Linked DNA regions of Homo sapiens: regions 2, 3, 4, 5 and 6 are each linked to region 1. The links are contacts of gene promoters, found by promoter capture Hi-C in human tissues and cell types (Jung and others, 2019). All regions are on one chromosome and are shown on one strand. The core of a region is centred on a gene start or on the middle of the fragment in contact, and the rest is flanking DNA. Distances in the headings are between cores, read along the strand shown. Region 1 holds the start of ZNF688 (zinc finger protein 688). Region 2 has its middle 4.6 kb from the start of ZNF48. Region 3 holds the start of ZNF771 (zinc finger protein 771). Region 4 overlaps SRCAP (Snf2 related CREBBP activator protein). Region 5 overlaps DCTPP1 (dCTP pyrophosphatase 1). Region 6 holds the start of SNORA30 (small nucleolar RNA, H/ACA box 30).

Region 1 (2,546 bases), core at 33-2,532:
ATCTCCTGGGAAACCGGAATTAAGTTACACTTACAAACACTTTTGCACAGACTGTCTCAGGTTATAGAATGCTTTTCACTTAAGGCAGTGAGGGAAGTTCTGTCCAGTGATTAACACACAGGCTTTAGAACAAGGTAAACAGGATTCAGATCTCCTAAAAGTGCCTTATCTGAGCCTTGGTTCCTTATGCATCAAATGGGAATAATAATGGCTTTTGACTTCACAGCGTTACTGGTTTAGCTGAGTAGATGCATGTTAAGCACTTAGGAAGTGCTCAGGAAGCAGGGGCTATTATTTATTTATTTATTTATTTATTTATTTATTTATTTATTTATTTTTGAGACGGAGTCTCACTCTGTCACCCAGGCTGGAGTGCCTGGTTGGACTGGGCTCCCAGTCCTCACAGGACCGCTGTCCCATGTTCTGAAAACTTTGTACCAGGTCTGCCTTCTTTACTCCTCTAGTACCCAACACAGTTGAATTTCTTTAGGGATGCTGGAAGTGGGGGCCTGAAAAGAAACTCTGCTAGACAGGAAGCCCTGGAAAACCAAGTGGGGGGACCCGGGACTATCCCTCACCTCTCCGAGCTCCTCCCAGTCTTTCCCCCTTCTCAGGATCCTGGGCGGCGGGGCTCCAAGCCTCACTCTCCTGTTCCATCCAAGAGATGAGGGCTGGTTTGGGGCCTGGGAATCCTGGGAGAGAACAGGGATCACAGCGCGGGCCTGAGAGGCCATCGTGGGAAGATGGCATTCCCCTCCAGGCTGAGGGCACCCCCTCGGAGCTTATACTCAACCTGGAAGGGGCTGCAGTGCTGCTGCCTGAATGAAATGGATGCGGGTGAAAACACTCCCGAGGGGGTACCTGAAGCCCTGGGAACGGGAGGTGGCTGCTGGTGTTGGTGCAAGAGTGCGGGATTAGGGCTCACAGTCCTCTCGGCCCTTCTACATCATCTCCCCTGTGAACCCGGTGAAGGAGGAGGGGGCTCGGACCCGGGGCTCTCACCGAGCGCGCCCAGGTGGCCGTAGGTCTCCTGCATCACGTCCCGGTACAGAGCCCTCTGCGCGGGCCGCAGACAGCCCCACTCCTCCGGGGAGAAGTACACGGCCACGTCCGCGAAGCTCACAGTCCCGGGCTTCCTGCAACCAGGCCGGGTCTCCCCGGGCCTCGGCGCCAGGAGCGGGGCTGGGGGCGGCGCCATGGGGCCTCGCAGCCCCGATCGGCGGCCGCCAGGTCCCTGGAGCCGCCGCCTCCCCGCTCCCGGCCTCAGCTGTCGTTGTCCACAGGAAGGGCGGCCCCGCCCAGCCGTGGCGTCCGAACGCAGCCGAGGCAACCGAAGTAGCAGGGACTGGCTGCTAGGGATTCGAGGATTCTGATAGGGACAAATATAATTCCTCAGTGTTTATTCACTTCATGGCCGCTTGGACATAGACACCCGGGTTAAGGGACCCGGAAGGTGCCTTCTGAAAATATGGCGACCACCCTTCAATTGTCACAGGCTGCTCTTAAGGGCGCCATTATTTGACCATATCAAATATGGAGCCTTTCTGACTTCTCTGGCCTCATCGTCCCACTTGCCCTTAAATAAAGCCGCTTCGGCTGCTTTTTCTAGTGGGGGAGGCGGGGTGTCTGGGAAGTAGAGGAGAGGCTTCTTGCCTTCAAGAAAGATGTAAGGGCCCGAAGCTTCACTTACCCCTCTGTACCCGCAATACGCAACGGCCGATGATTGGCGACGATCCCGGAAGAAGCTGCGCGGTGATTGGCCTGGGACTGGCGGGGCATTTGAAGGGACCCCGCGGTCCTGAAGCCTCTGTTGACAGACTGGAGCGCAGCGGAGACCTCGGCATCTGCGGTGCTCGGGATTGTGTCCCCTACGGTCTCTTACCGTGCCTCCCGATGGCGGGAGCTGGAATTTGGTCCCCAGACCCCTTGGGAAGACGCGCACACCCTGGCAAACCATGTGTACACCCGCGGTAGAAGCAGGTGCGTGTTTTACAGTAGCTTAGCTGCGGAGTCCACCCAGCCCCTGGCATCCGCAGCTCGGCTCGCTCAGGCTCTAGACCGAAGCTGCAGGCGAAGGAACGTGCTTGGTGAGGATGGAATCGGAATGGGGAAGTTTTAAATTAAATAGTAATTGTTGCTAACATACATGAATTTATTTTTTGTTTGTTTTGAGACAGGGTCTTGCTCTGTGGCCCAGCAGTGCGATCCTAGCTCACTGCAGACTCGACCTCCCGGGCTGAAGCGATCTTCTCACCTCAGCCTCCCGAGTAGCTGGGACCACAGGCGCACACCCAATGCTTGGCTAATTTTTAAATTTTAAAACAGAGACAGGGTCTTGCTATGTTGCCCAGGCTGGTCTGGAACTCCTGGCCTCAAGCAATTCTCCTGCCTCGGCCTCCCAAAGTGCTGTGATTACAGGCATGCGCCACGGTTCCCAGCCATTTCTACTTTTTCTTTGAGAAGGAGTTTTACTCTTGTTGCCCAGGCTGGAGTGCAATGGCGCTATCTCGGCTTGCCCAGGCTGGAGTGCAATGGCGCTATCTAGG
Region 2 (2,546 bases), core at 24-2,523, 180 kb before region 1:
AAAAAAAAAAAAAGGCTCTTGCTTGGTCATTGTGTTAAATGTAGAGTTTATATGAATTAACAGTGACACCATAGTCCATTTCCATGCTTATTAATTCCAACTAATTATGGCGAATCATTCATATGATATTTGGGGCTTGTTTGCTTTGACAAAGGAAGGCAGTACCTTGAGTTTCATATAGGGCAGTGTGTGGTGGACAGCTCTCTTCCCATTTAGTAATTATTTAGTCATTTGGATTAGTTTTTTTTTTTTTTTTTTTTTTTTTTTTTTTTTTTTTAGAAACAGGGTCTTGTTCTGTTGCCCAGGCTGGAATGTAGTAGTGCGATCATAGGTTATTGCAGTCTTGAACACCTGGGCTCACTTCTGCCTCCCAAGTAGCTGGGACTATAGCTTTGCAACACCATCCCTGGCTAATTCTTTTTTCTTTTTAGAGATGGGGTCACTATGTTGGCCAGGCTGGTCCCAAACTCCTGACCTCAAATGATTCTCCTGCCTTGGCCTCCCAAAGCACTAGGATTCCAGGTGTAAGCCACTATGCCCAGCCCGTATTAGTTCTTCTTCATCTTGCCATCATGTCTTCACAGTTACCTCTTCCCCACCCCTTGCATCCCTTGAGGGACTTCTATATCTTTAGACATTAATTCAAGTTCAGATCTAATAACTATAGGATTTGTCCTCTCAAAGTCAGAGTTAGGCAGCTCTGCAAATGAATATGGCAGGCATGCTGACCATTTATACCCTCTTCTATTTCCCAGCACAAATGCCCAGTACCTGATGGATACCCAGGAAATGTTTGTGGAACAAATGAATAAACTTACATTCTTTTTTATTTTTATTTATTTATTTTTTTTGAGTCGGAGTCTCGCTCTGTCGCCCAGGATGGAGTGCAGTGGTGCGATCTGGGCTCACTGCAACATCCCCTCCCGGGTTCACGTGATTCTCCTGCCTCAGCCTCCCGAGTAGCTGGGGCTACAGGCACCTGCCACCACGCCCAGCTAATTTTTTGTATTTTTAGTAGAGACGGGTTTTTTTTTTTTTTTTTTTTTTTTTTTTTTTTTTTTTTGAGATGGAGTTTTCTCTGTCGCCCAGGCTGGAGTGCAGTGGTGTGATCTCGGCTCACTGCAAGCTCCGCCTCCTGGGTTCATGCCATTATCCTGCCTCAGCCTCCTGAGTAGCTGGGACTACAGGCGCCCGCCATCACGCCTGGCTAATTTTTTTTTTATATTTTTAGTAGAGACGGGGTTTCACCGTGTTAGCCAGGATGCTCTCGATCTCCTGACCTCGTGATCTGCCCACCTCAGCCTCCCAAAGTGCTGGGATTACAGGCGTGAGCCACCGCGCCTGGCCAGAGACAGGGTTTCAATGTGTTAGCCAGGATGGTCTCGATCTCCTGACCTCGTGATCTGCCCACCTTGACCTCCCAAAGTGCTGGGATTAGAGGCGTGAGCCACTGCGCCCGGCCGAATAAACTTACATTCTATCTTCATCTTTCACTGCTTTCCTAATATGTAAACTCACGGCACATTAAAACGGAACTATTCTCTATTTTCCTCTCTGAAGATAGGTCGTAATCCATAGTCATCTTTGGATCTCAAGCTTCTAGCACACATTAGGTTTTCTTTTATTTTTATTTTTTGAGACGGAGTCTCACTCTGTCGCCCAGGCTGGAGTGCAGTGATCTCTGCTCACTGAAACCTCTGCCTCCCGGGTTCAAATGATTCTCCTGCCTCAGCCTCCTGAGTAGCTGGGATTACAGGTGAGCACCACCACCTCCAGCTAATTTTTTTATTTTTAGTAGAGACAGGTTTTCACCATGTTGGTCAGGCTGGTCTCCAACCCCTGACCTCATGATCCGCCCGCCTCAGCCTACCAAAGTGCTGGGATTACAGGCGTGAGCCACTGCTCCTGGCAGTCTTTTTCTTTTCTTTTTTTTTTTTTAAACAGAGTTTTGTTCTGTTGCCCAGAACGGAATGCAGTGGTGTGATCTCAGCTCACTGCAACCTCCGGCTCGCGAGTTCAAGCGATTCTCCTGCCTCCGCCTCCCGAGTAGCTGGGATTACAGGCGCGTACCACCACATCTGGCTAATTTTTGTATTTTTTAGTAGAGATGGGGTTTCACCATGTTGGCCAAACTGGTCTCGAACTCCTGACCTCAGGTGATTCACCTGCCTCAGCCTCCCAAAGTGTGGGGATTATAGGCGTGAGCCACTGATTCCAGCCTAAGGTTTTCTTTCTCTTTCCTTTTCTTTCTCCTTTTTTTTTGGCGGGGGGGTGGGGGTGGGATAGGGTCTTGCTCTGTCACCCAGGCTGGAGTGCAGTGGCATGATCTCAGCTCCCTGCAACTTTCACCTCCCGCGCCCAAGAGATCCTCTCACCTCAGCCTCCCAAGTAGCTGGGACTACAGGTGTGCACCACCACTCCCAGCTAACTTTTTTGTATCTTTTTATTTATTTTATTTTTTCCTGAGGCGGCGTATCGCTCTGTCGCCCAGGCTGGAGCGCAGTGGCGCGATCTCGGCTAACTGGAAGCTCCGCCTCCCAGGTTCA
Region 3 (2,546 bases), core at 21-2,520, 160 kb before region 1:
GCACCACCAAGCTTGGCTAATTTTTGTATTTTTAGTAGAGACGGGGTTTCACCATGTTGGTTAGGCTGGTCTCGAAATCCTGACCTCAAGTGATCCACCGGCCTCCGCCTCCCAAAGTGCTGGGATTACAGGCATGAGCCACCGCGCCCGGCTTTGAAACGATTTTTTTTTTTTTTTTTTTTTTTTTTTTTTGAGACGGAGTCTCGCTCTGTCGCCCAGGCTGGAGCGCAGTGGCGCGATCTCGGCTAACTGCAAGCTCGCCTCCCGGGTTCACGCCATTCTCCTGTCTCAGCCTCCCGAGTAGCTGGCACTACAGGTGCCCGCCACCACGCCCAGCTAATTTTTTGTATTTTGTTTAGTAGAGTCGGGGTTTCACCGTGTTAGCCAGGATGGTCTCTATCTCCTGACCTCGTGATCCGCCCGCCTCGGCCTCCTAAAGTGCTGGGATTACAGGCGTGAGCCGCCGTGCCCGTCCGAAAAGATTTTTTAAAAGTAAAAATACCCTAAGGGCCAAACAAGGTACCCCTGTGGACTGGATTTAGCTTTGGGCTGTTGTTCACCTAGGCTACTGATTGTCAGGGATGCTATGACATCCTTATCGTGTAACTTAGGCAAATCAGTTTACCTCCCTGAACTTCAGTGAGCTCATCTGTAAAATGGATCAGGACCCATCGTTATGCGGATCAAATGAGACCAGGTATGTAAGACGCTGAACAGCGCTGGCGCATGGTAAGCACCCCACGCATGACGCGACAGCGGTAGCTTGGGTGGATGTTGAATTGGTTAGGATGTATTCAAGGATATCCCAGAGGCCAGCGGAATAGGCGAAGCCGAGAAAGATGGAGAAAAGACGGCAGAGGAGATAAAGAGGGAATGGAAGAAGTGAGGAGGCAACAGGGTCCGCCCTCCAGGCGGGGCGCCAGGGAGAGGCCCAGGCCGGGGCGGGAGCGCACGTGGCCTATTTCGGGCGGAGCAGAGGCACTGGGCGCAGCGGAGACCTCCAAGCCGGCCCCAGGAGACGGGCCGCGAGGTTAGGTTGGAACTCGGCGGCAAGGACCTTGAACGCCGGGCTGGGGCGGCTCCAGGTGCTTGGGAGTCGGGGGACTGCGGAGGACGCCAAGTCTGAGCTCGCCGCCCTCTCCGAGCCGTTTGGGCCGGACGCCTGGGTCCTTCGGGCTCCGCCCCAGGGGGTGGGGCTATATGTTCGGACCAATGACCGGCCGTCCCTGCGGTCCCGCCCCCTCCCCGCCCCCGGAGCCGCGGCCTCGCTGAGTGCCCAGCCGCCCGGCGCCCAGGCCTGGGGCACCGCGAGTGCCGAACCTTCGGCTGGTGAGTGCGCACCCCCTCCCCGGGGTTTCCGCCCCGATCCCGCCTCCAGCCCGTGCCCCAGAGCTCCAGGTCGCCGACCCGGGCCCTGGGGAGTGACTCAGCGCAAGGATGGTGGCGACTTGCGGGGGCTGGAGATTCGAACTGTTCAAGGCCTTGAATGCTGGGATGAGTGGGGTGAACGCGAGCCCTCGGAGCTGGTCCCGGGGCTGTGCCAGAGCGTGGGGCCGGGCTGGGGTGGACGGGAGAGGACCAGATTCGGAGACCAGGGCAGGGCGGGAGAAGCCACGGCTGCACTGCCTTGCTGGGCCAGGGCCACGGTGGGCGGGGGGGGGGGTGGGGGGGGGCGGGTCCTGAGCTTCTGATCCAGCTCCCCGCCTCAGGACACCAAGATGCCTGGCGAACAGCAGGCAGAGGAAGAGGAGGAGGAAGAGATGCAGGAGGAGATGGTGCTGCTGGTGAAGGGTGAGGAGGATGAGGGTGAGGAGAAGTATGAGGTGGTGAAACTCAAGATCCCCATGGACAACAAGGAGGTATGTGTCACACACACCCTGGGGCACACTGTCCCCAAACCTGGTCCAGGCCCAGCCTCCCTCAGATAGAAGCCAGGGATCTTGCCCCTACTTTTCCCAGAATCTCGGATCTAAAACCTCAGGATTGGCCCATCCTTCTGCCCTACTGCCTGGGCTTCCATCATACAAAAGTCACGCCTACTGTCCCAGGCTTCCTGCTGGGTGCAGGAGATTAAACTCCGTCCTTGGATCCCCCATGGAGCTTGATGTTAGACTGAAGGGTAACCACACAGTTAGAATCCCGTGTGATGGCTGCAGGTACAGGGGGATGATGAAGCCTAGAAGTGGGAACTTAACTCAGATTTAGAGGTTGGGGAAAGGTCAGGTTAGTTCAACAGCAACAGTAACAATAGCTAACCCTTGCCTAGCATTTTCTATGTGCCAGGCACTGTTCTAAGCACCTCGATTCTATGATGTCGGTAGCATTTATTCCATTTTACAGATGAGGAGACTGAGGCCCAGGGCAGTTTGGTAACTGGCCACAGGTCTCAAAGTAAAAGGATGGCTTATGTGAGACTAGTAGGAGTCTGGGGTCAGAAGTGGGGTGATGGACCCAGTCAGAGGAAATGGCTCTTTTATTATTACTGTTGTTATTGTTTGAGACAGGGTCTCATTCAGTCACCCAAGCTGTAGTGCAGTACAGCTCAC
Region 4 (2,546 bases), core at 33-2,532, 160 kb after region 1:
ACAGTAAGTAAACAGTAAATTTTGGTCTTGGAAAAGACAAGGACCTTTTTGTGTTGACTAGAATTATTTGGCGGTAACAGAAAACCAACTAACAGTCATTGTTTTCTTAATGAGCCAATCTGAGAATAGTGGTGTGTAGCTGTTTCAGTAGCTTAACGATATTTTCAGGGACCAGGACCTTTTCTTCCTTCTTTCTTTCTTTTTTTTTCAGATAGAGTCTCACTCTGTCGCCCAGGCTGGAGTGCAGTGGCTCGATCTCGGCTCACTGCAACTTCCGCCTCCTGGGTTCAAGCGATTCTCCTGCTTCAGCCTCCTGAGTAGCTGGGATTACAGGTGCACACCACCACACCCGGCTAATTTTTGTATTTTTAGTAGACACGGGGTTTCACCATGTTGGTCAGGCTGGTCTCGATCTCCTGACCTCGTGATCTGCCCACCTTGGCCTCCCAAAGTGCTGGGATTACAGGTGTGAACCACTGCGCCCAGCCTTTTTTTTTTTTTTGAGATGGAGTTTCGCTGTGTTTCAAGGTATTCTCCTGCCTCAGCCTCCCGAGTAGCTGGGATTACAGGTGCCCACCACAACGCCTGGGTGATTTTTTTGTATTTTTAGTAGAGACAGGGTTTCACCATGTTGGCCAGGCTGGTCTCGAACTCCTGACCTCGTGATCCCCTTGCCTCGGCCTTCCAAAGTGCTGGGATTACACACGTGAGCCATTGCACCCAGCCTTAAGGGACCAGGACTTTATCTTTCTACCCTGCTGTACCATCTTTAGCTTTTTATCTTTTTATTCTCATGCTTTTGTTTCTTCATGATGTTAGGATGGCTGCCATAACTCCAGGGTATACACCAATCCTCTAAACAAGAAACAAGGGGTTGAGACAAAACACTCTGAGAAGGTTTTCTGGGAACAAAAGACCTCCAAGCTGACTTTGCTTCATAACTCATTGGCTCAAACTGAGCTATATGCCCATACTTAGAGCAATCACTGACAAAGGGGAATAGCAAAAAAGACCTCTGGCTTATTTAGATCAACTTGATTTATTTTCTGGGTTTGGGTTGGGGCCTTCTTCACCTGGGAGCAAAGAACCTCTGCCAGCTGTCCAGGGTTAATCAGGTTCTTTTACCCAAGAATGGCTATTGGGTAAGTGACTAGTTCCACAGCCCTGCACAGACATTTGTATAGTAACATGTTTCGAGATTTTTTAAATTTCCTAGAATATAAGAAAATCAAAATTTTTATTAATATGTGTTCAATAAATGTTTTAGTAAAAAAAAGTGTTTTTGTTACATTTGAAACTATTCAGAGTAGATGAACTGAAAGTCTTGGTTAAAAGTGTTCAAGGCCGGGTGTGGTGACTCATACTTGTAATCCCAGCACTTGGGTAGGCTGAGGTGGGCAGCTCACTTGAGGCAAGTAAAGACCAGCCCAGGCAACATGGCGAAACCCTGTCTCCTCAAAAACTGAAAAATTAGTGGATATAGTGGTGCACACCTATAGTCCCAGCTACTCAGATGGCTGGATTGCAGGAGCCTGGGAGGTTGAGGTGCAGTCAGCTGTGATCATGCCACTGCACTCTAGCCTGGGTGACAGGGTGAGACCTTGTCTCAAAAATAAAATAAGGCTGGGCCTGGTGGCTCATGTCTGTAATCCCAGCACTTTGAGAGGCTGAGGTGAGTGGATCACTTGAGTTCATGAGTTGGAGACCAGCCTGGGCAACATGGCGAAACCCTGTCTCTACAAAAAATACAAAAATTAGCCAGGCGTGGTGACATACGCCTGTAGTCCAAACTACTTGGGAGGCTGAGGTGGGAGGATGGCTTGAGCCCGGGAGGCAGAGGTTGCAGTGAGCTGAGATCGCACCACTGCACTCCAGCCTGGGTAATAGAGCCAGACCTTGTCTCAAAAAATGAAATAATAAAGTGTTCAGGCTGGGCACGGTGGCTCACGCCTGTAATCCCAGCACTTTGGGAGGCTGAGGCAGGTGGATCACCTGAGGTCTGGATTTGGAGACCAGCCTGACCAACATGGAGAAACCCTGTCTCTACTAAAAATACAAAATTATCCGGACGTGGTGGCACATGCCTGTAATCCCAGCCACTCGGGAAGCTGAGGCAGGAAAATTGCTTGAATCCAGGAGGTGGAGGTTGCCGTGAGCTGAGATTCCACCATTGCACTCCAGCCTGGGCAACAAGAGCAAAACTCTGTCTCAAAAAAAAAAAAAGGAAAAGGAAAAAAATAAAAGTTCAAACTGTGTTACCAGAAATGTTGAAGTTATTTCTGTGTTTGATGGAAGGTTGAACTAGATAAACTTTCTAAGAGCCTTTACTGTTCTGATCTGTGACCTTAAATCCCTGTCTGTAAGCTGTGACCATGGATTTGTTGATATCTATCCTGTGAATCTGTTCTGGATTTCAGGTGGTATGACTATTGTAATACTTAAGGATCTCTTGCTCATAAAGCATTGGGGATTCTGTTTTTCCCTCGATGTTATGTATTCCCCTACTCTTTTAGACTCCAAGAAGTTAGATTCTAGGCTGGAGCAGA
Region 5 (2,546 bases), core at 16-2,515, 150 kb before region 1:
AAATAAATAAAAAGGCAAACGACTGGGCACGGTGGCTCAGGCCTGTAATCCCAGCACTTTGGGAAGCCAAAGTGGGCAGATCACCTAAGGTCAGAAGTTCAAGACCGGCCTGGCCAACATGGTGAAACCCCATCTCTACTAAAAATACAAAAAAGTAACCGGGCGTGGTGGCGGGCACCTGTAGTCCCAGCTACTCGGGAGGCTGAGGCAGGAGAATGGTGTGAACCCGGGAGGTGGAGCTTGCAGTGAGCCGAGATCACACCACTGCACTCCAGCCTGGGCGAAAGAGTGAGACTCCGTCTCAAAACAATAAAAAAAAAAGCTGGGCGTGATGGTGGGCACCTGTAATCCCCGCTACTGGGAGGCTAAGGCATGAGAATCGCTTGAACTCAGGAGGCAGAGGTTGCAGAGAGCCGAGATCATACCGCCGCACTCCAGCCAGGCCTACAAGAGCAGGACTCTGTCTCAAAAAAAAAAAAAAAAGGAAAACAGGTAATAACAGTAACTGCAAAACTTACCAAGTGTACTTTACTATGTGCCAGGCCCCGCCCTGAGCATTCACATAACTCATTGAAACCTCACGACCCTATTGGGCAGGTACTATTCTTTTTATTTGATAGACAAGGAAGCTGAAGTGCAGAACGATTAATTTGAGTAATGTCATTTAGCTTGCAAGTGTCAAAGATGGCATTTGAACCCAGACAGCCTGGCTCCACCATCTGGACTCTTACAGCCTTCAATCTCTAAGAGGGGGAAGGAACTTACATGACATCCTACTGGGAATTTGCTAGAAACCAGATCTCTCTGCCCTGCAGGCAAAAGGTACAACAGGGAAACACGAGAATGGGTCTCAGAGGCACCCCTGGTACCCCCGTCATCACCTGCTGAGACAGAGAGCCTCCCTGGCCATCCAGGAATAATCTAGAAGTTATCGCCCAAAACCATTTTACTGGGAGAACAAACACCAGGAGGCTACCTTCTAGAGGCTGCTGGGCCTCAGACCTCAAGAAGTGGAGGCCTCAGGCCCATGATCTATTCTGAAAAGACTAGAAAAAGGCTCCAGGGCCAGGCCACTCTCTGCTCTTCAGACACCACCCTGAGTTGCAAGTCCTGTGGCCATCTTTCTAGGTTGAGGTCTGGCCTGTGGAGTCACAGGGAATGTCCGCAGGCCCCACAGCCTGGTCTTCAGAGATGGCCCCATGGGGCAATTCTGTATACTTGCGGGAAGAGCTGCGGGCCAGATGGGCTGGGTAGCGTCGCCGGTTGATGTCCATTTTGGAGAGCACTGCTAGCGGCAGATCCACACGGCAGCGGGCTGCTAATGCCACCAGGTAGATGAGGACGTCACTAAGCTCCTCTTGAAGGGCTGCCCGTTCCCTGGGGGACCAGCCTTGGGGGCCAGGTTCCCCATCGGTTTTCCACTGACTAGGGGCAGAACACAGACAGACACACACTCAGATGTAACCTGGGGCAATGGGCTCTGCCAGTCCTTGCAGTAATAACACCCACCTCCAAGGACGACCTAACCAATCTGGGCCCTGGGAAGAGTCAGGTGGGGAAGAGACCCCGACAGATGATACCAAGATGTCTGTGTCTCTCCCTGGGCCAAGGAGTGGCCAAAAGAATGTTTCATCTGTTGAGACAAAGCTTTGAGGCCCAATTCTAATTCTCTCCAGCCCTAGCCGTCACCACCACAGACCAAACCTCGGACCTGGACCACTGCAGAAGCCTCCCCACTCATCTCCTGGCTAGCTCATCTTCTACTCCTGCCCAGACCATCTTTTCTATTTTTTGAGACGGAGTCTCGCTCTGTCGCCCAGGCTGGAGTGGAGTGCAATGGGGCGATACTGCAACCTCCGCCTCCCGGGTTCAAGCGATTCTCCTGCCTCCGTCTTCCGAGTTGCTGGGATTACAGGCATGTGCCGCCATGCCCGGCTAATTTTGTTTTTCTAGTAGAGACAGGGTTTTGCCATATTGGCCAGGCTGGTCTCGAACTCCTGACCTCAGGTGAGCCGCCCTCCTCGGCCTCTCAAAGTGCTGGGATTACAGGCATGAGCCACCGCACCCGGCCCACACCATCTTTTAAAAGCACAAATCAGGCTTGGCGCAGTGGCTCACGCCTATAATCCCAGCACTTGGGGAGGCTGAAGCGGGTGGATCATGAGGTCAGGAGTTCAAGACCAGCCTGGCCAAGATGGTGAAACCCCGTCTCTACTAAATATACAAAAAAATTAGCTGGGCATGGTGGTGGGCACCTATAATCCCAGGTACTCAGGAGGCTGAGGCAGAGAAATTCTTGAACCCAGGAGGCAGAGGTTGCAGTGAGCCGAGATCGCACCACAGCATTCCAGCCTGGGAAACAGAGCAAGACTCCGTCTCAAAAAAACAACAAAACAAAACAAAATGAAACAAAAAAAATTGGCTGGGTGCCATGGCTCATGCCTGTAATCCCAGCACTTTGGGAGGGTGAAGTGGGTAGATCACCTGAGGTCAGGAGTCCGAGACCAGCCTGGCCAACAAGGTGAAACCCCATCTCTACAGAAAAT
Region 6 (2,546 bases), core at 19-2,518, 140 kb after region 1:
GAAGGCAATGATGCAGAGGCCCAGAGGCGTGAGATTGAGCTGCTTCGCCGTGAGGGAGAATTGCCACTGGAAGAGCTGCTCCGTTCCCTTCCCCCTCAGCTGTTGGAAGGGCCTTCCAGCCCCTCTCAAACCCCCTCATCTCATGATAGTGACACCCGAGATGGGCCTGAAGAAGGTGCTGAAGAAGAGCCCCCTCAGGTGTTGGAGGTATAGGCAGAAGGAGCAGAGGGAGGGTTCAGAGGGGGAACAGAGGGAGAGGTTCAGGGTCTGAGTTCCGGGCTGTGAGGTTGGTTATGAGTTTTAGGAGTTCTGCTAGTAATGGACATTTGGGCTCTTTGGGGATGACTGGGGAAGAATCTGTTTGGGGCAAGTTGCATTTTGTGATTGGCAGGTTTTGGCGCTATAGTGGAAGAGCGTATTGCACTTTCCTCTTTAAATTGCTGTGTGGTCTTGAAAAAGTACTTCCTCTGACCGTTACTTGCCACTTCTCTGAACATGCCCTAATGTTCCCTTATTGGCTTACAGGTTGGAAGCTGGCATGGTACCCTTAAGTCTTTTCTGTTTCTCCATATGTCTCAAGTGCATGGGGAAGTGTTGGGTGCCTTTATTTGTTACCTGGCACTTTCACAGTTCCTTCCCCAGGCAGTGGGGCCAGGATTTGGTAGCTGGTGCTGAGAGAAAACCCTTGATTGTATTCTTGCCCTGGGATTATACCAGTGGCAACTGTCACTCAATGGGACAGTGATTCTCCTGTGACACCTTTTTCAAGTTTGTGCCATTCTTCTGCTACTGTAACCTTAGACCCTTCCCTTTTTTATCTTTTGCCATACAGATAAAGCCCCCACCCTCTGCTGTCACACAGCGCAACAAACAGCCTTGGCATCCAGATGAAGATGATGAAGAGTTTACTGCCAACGAAGAGGAAGGTCAGGGCTGTTCGGTTTGTCCTATTGCCCCTTACCCCTTGAATGAATTGTCTGGACCTAACCTTTCAGGCTTTCTCATCTGTTTCATTTGGACTGTGTCCTGTGCCTCTAGCCTCTATCCCTATTAATCTTGCTTCTGTCTCTTTCCTAGCGGAGGATGAAGAGGATACTATAGCAGCTGAGGAACAGTTGGAAGGGGAGGTGGATCATGCCATGGAGCTGAGCGAGTTGGCTCGAGAAGGTGACATTTACCAGACATTTTACTAAGCATCCACTTGGTGTCTGCGGTGTGCAGTACCAAGGATAAAGAGATGAATAAGGCACTTTGTATCCACCCTGGAGGAATTCCATGTCTAATGACTAAGACAGACTTGTAAACCAGTAATGATAAGTAGAAAGTGATGAGTGCTTATGATAGAAGTTTAAATGGTGATGTGGGAGTGAAATGGAGGGAAGAGCTAATGTAGGAAGATACTGACAGCATTTGACCTGGACCTTGAGAGGCTCACCAGGTTGATAATGTTCTTCCCAATTCCCATGGTACTTCCCCCAGGTTGTGGGGCTTGGCTTTGCTAGCTGATGCTGAAAGTAAGCTCTTTTGCCTCCCCTCAGACCTGGGCCTAGCAGTATCTACAGAGACCTAGGTAAAATTAACTGGTACTACTCAGACCTCCCCTTCTCCCTCCCCTCAGAGCAACCAAAAGCTTTTTGTTTCTCTTCCAGGTGAGCTTTCCATGGAGGAGCTATTGCAGCAGTATGCAGGAGCCTATGCCCCAGGCTCTGGGAGCAGTGAAGATGAGGATGAAGATGAGGTTGATGCTAATAGCTCTGACTGTGAACCAGAGGGGCCCGTGGAAGCGGAAGAGCCTCCTCAGGAGGATAGTAGCAGTCAGTCAGGTGAATATGTGGTCATGAAGCAGGAGCTGGGGAGGGTGGCCATTGGAAGAGCAGGTATGATGAGCAGTAAGCCTTGGTCTTACCCTTTAGACTCTGTGGAGGACCGGAGTGAGGATGAGGAAGATGAACATTCAGAGGAGGAAGAAACAAGTGGAAGTTCAGCATCAGAGGAATCTGAGTCTGAAGAGTCTGAGGATGCCCAATCACAGAGCCAAGCAGATGAAGAGGAGGAAGATGATGATTTTGGGGTGGAGTACTTGCTTGCCAGGGATGAAGAGCAGAGTGAGGCAGATGCAGGCAGTGGGCCTCCTACTCCAGGGCCCACTACTCTAGGTCCAAAGAAAGAAATTACTGACATTGCTGCAGCAGCTGAAAGTCTCCAGCCCAAGGGTTACACGCTGGCCACGACCCAGGTATCCCCAGGTTCTGGCCTCTCCTTTCTCATGTCTTGACTTTCTCATGTCCCCACAACAAATGCCTCATTTCCATTGTGTTACCTATATTTCCTCTCTGACAGGTAAAGACGCCCATTCCCCTGCTTCTGCGGGGCCAGCTCCGGGAGTACCAGCACATTGGGCTAGACTGGCTGGTTACCATGTATGAGAAGAAGCTTAATGGCATTCTTGCTGATGAGATGGGGCTTGGGAAGACCATCCAGACCATCTCTCTGCTTGCCCACTTGGCTTGTGAGAAAGGTAAGTAGGCAAGGCCCCTTCTTTTGTT

What was found. Contacts are between HindIII fragments. The study calls those that stand out against the background at their distance.
Region 2: a contact is called between a fragment that was not itself captured here and the fragment with the promoter of ZNF688 in region 1, in 1 of the 25 tissues and cell types used here (dorsolateral prefrontal cortex).
Region 3: a contact is called between the fragment with the promoter of ZNF771 here and the fragment with the promoter of ZNF688 in region 1, in 1 of the 25 tissues and cell types used here (mesenchymal stem cells).
Region 4: a fragment that was not itself captured here is called in contact with the fragment with the promoter of ZNF688 in region 1 in 1 of the 25 tissues and cell types used here (hippocampus).
Region 5: a fragment that was not itself captured here is called in contact with the fragment with the promoter of ZNF688 in region 1 in 3 of the 25 tissues and cell types used here (lymphoblastoid cells, mesenchymal stem cells and thymus).
Region 6: a fragment that was not itself captured here is called in contact with the fragment with the promoter of ZNF688 in region 1 in 1 of the 25 tissues and cell types used here (dorsolateral prefrontal cortex).

Annotation. Positions count from the first base shown.
Region 1 is chr16:30,570,432-30,572,977 of GRCh38, forward strand. ZNF688 (zinc finger protein 688) reads right to left here and starts at 1,283. Exons shown (of 3, transcript NM_145271.4): 1 at 1,003-1,283; 2 at 579-692; 3 at 1-5. The coding sequence starts at 1,198. RefSeq lists an enhancer at 1-188 and a silencer at 1,051-1,290. The HindIII fragment of the contact is 17,900 bases long and covers 1-2,546 here.
Region 2 is chr16:30,389,577-30,392,122 of GRCh38, forward strand. It overlaps a transcript of ZNF48 not described here. Among named protein-coding and RNA genes, the nearest start is that of ZNF48, 4.6 kb to the right of the region's middle. The HindIII fragment of the contact is 2,143 bases long and covers 203-2,345 here.
Region 3 is chr16:30,406,336-30,408,881 of GRCh38, forward strand. ZNF771 (zinc finger protein 771) reads left to right here and starts at 1,271. Exons shown (of 3, transcript NM_001142305.2): 1 at 1,271-1,329; 2 at 1,710-1,859. The coding sequence starts at 1,719. RefSeq lists silencers at 995-1,174, 1,197-1,406. The HindIII fragment of the contact is 10,608 bases long and covers 1-2,546 here.
Region 4 is chr16:30,730,242-30,732,787 of GRCh38, forward strand. All of the region lies in intron 27 of SRCAP (Snf2 related CREBBP activator protein), which reads left to right. Among named protein-coding and RNA genes, the nearest start is that of TMEM265, 9.1 kb to the right of the region's middle. RefSeq lists an enhancer at 1,450-1,609. The HindIII fragment of the contact is 8,180 bases long and covers 1-2,546 here.
Region 5 is chr16:30,423,109-30,425,654 of GRCh38, forward strand. It overlaps DCTPP1 (dCTP pyrophosphatase 1), which reads right to left. Exons shown (of 3, transcript NM_024096.2): 3 at 507-1,425. The coding sequence ends at 1,125. Among named protein-coding and RNA genes, the nearest start is that of SNORA80C, 4.6 kb to the left of the region's middle. The HindIII fragment of the contact is 5,048 bases long and covers 1-2,546 here.
Region 6 is chr16:30,709,922-30,712,467 of GRCh38, forward strand. SRCAP (Snf2 related CREBBP activator protein) reads left to right here. Exons shown (of 34, transcript NM_006662.3): 8 at 1-207; 9 at 833-926; 10 at 1,078-1,167; 11 at 1,650-1,823; 12 at 1,914-2,236; 13 at 2,341-2,518. It overlaps SNORA30 (small nucleolar RNA, H/ACA box 30), which reads left to right and starts at 616; the gene lies at 616-744. The HindIII fragment of the contact is 4,122 bases long and covers 1-2,546 here.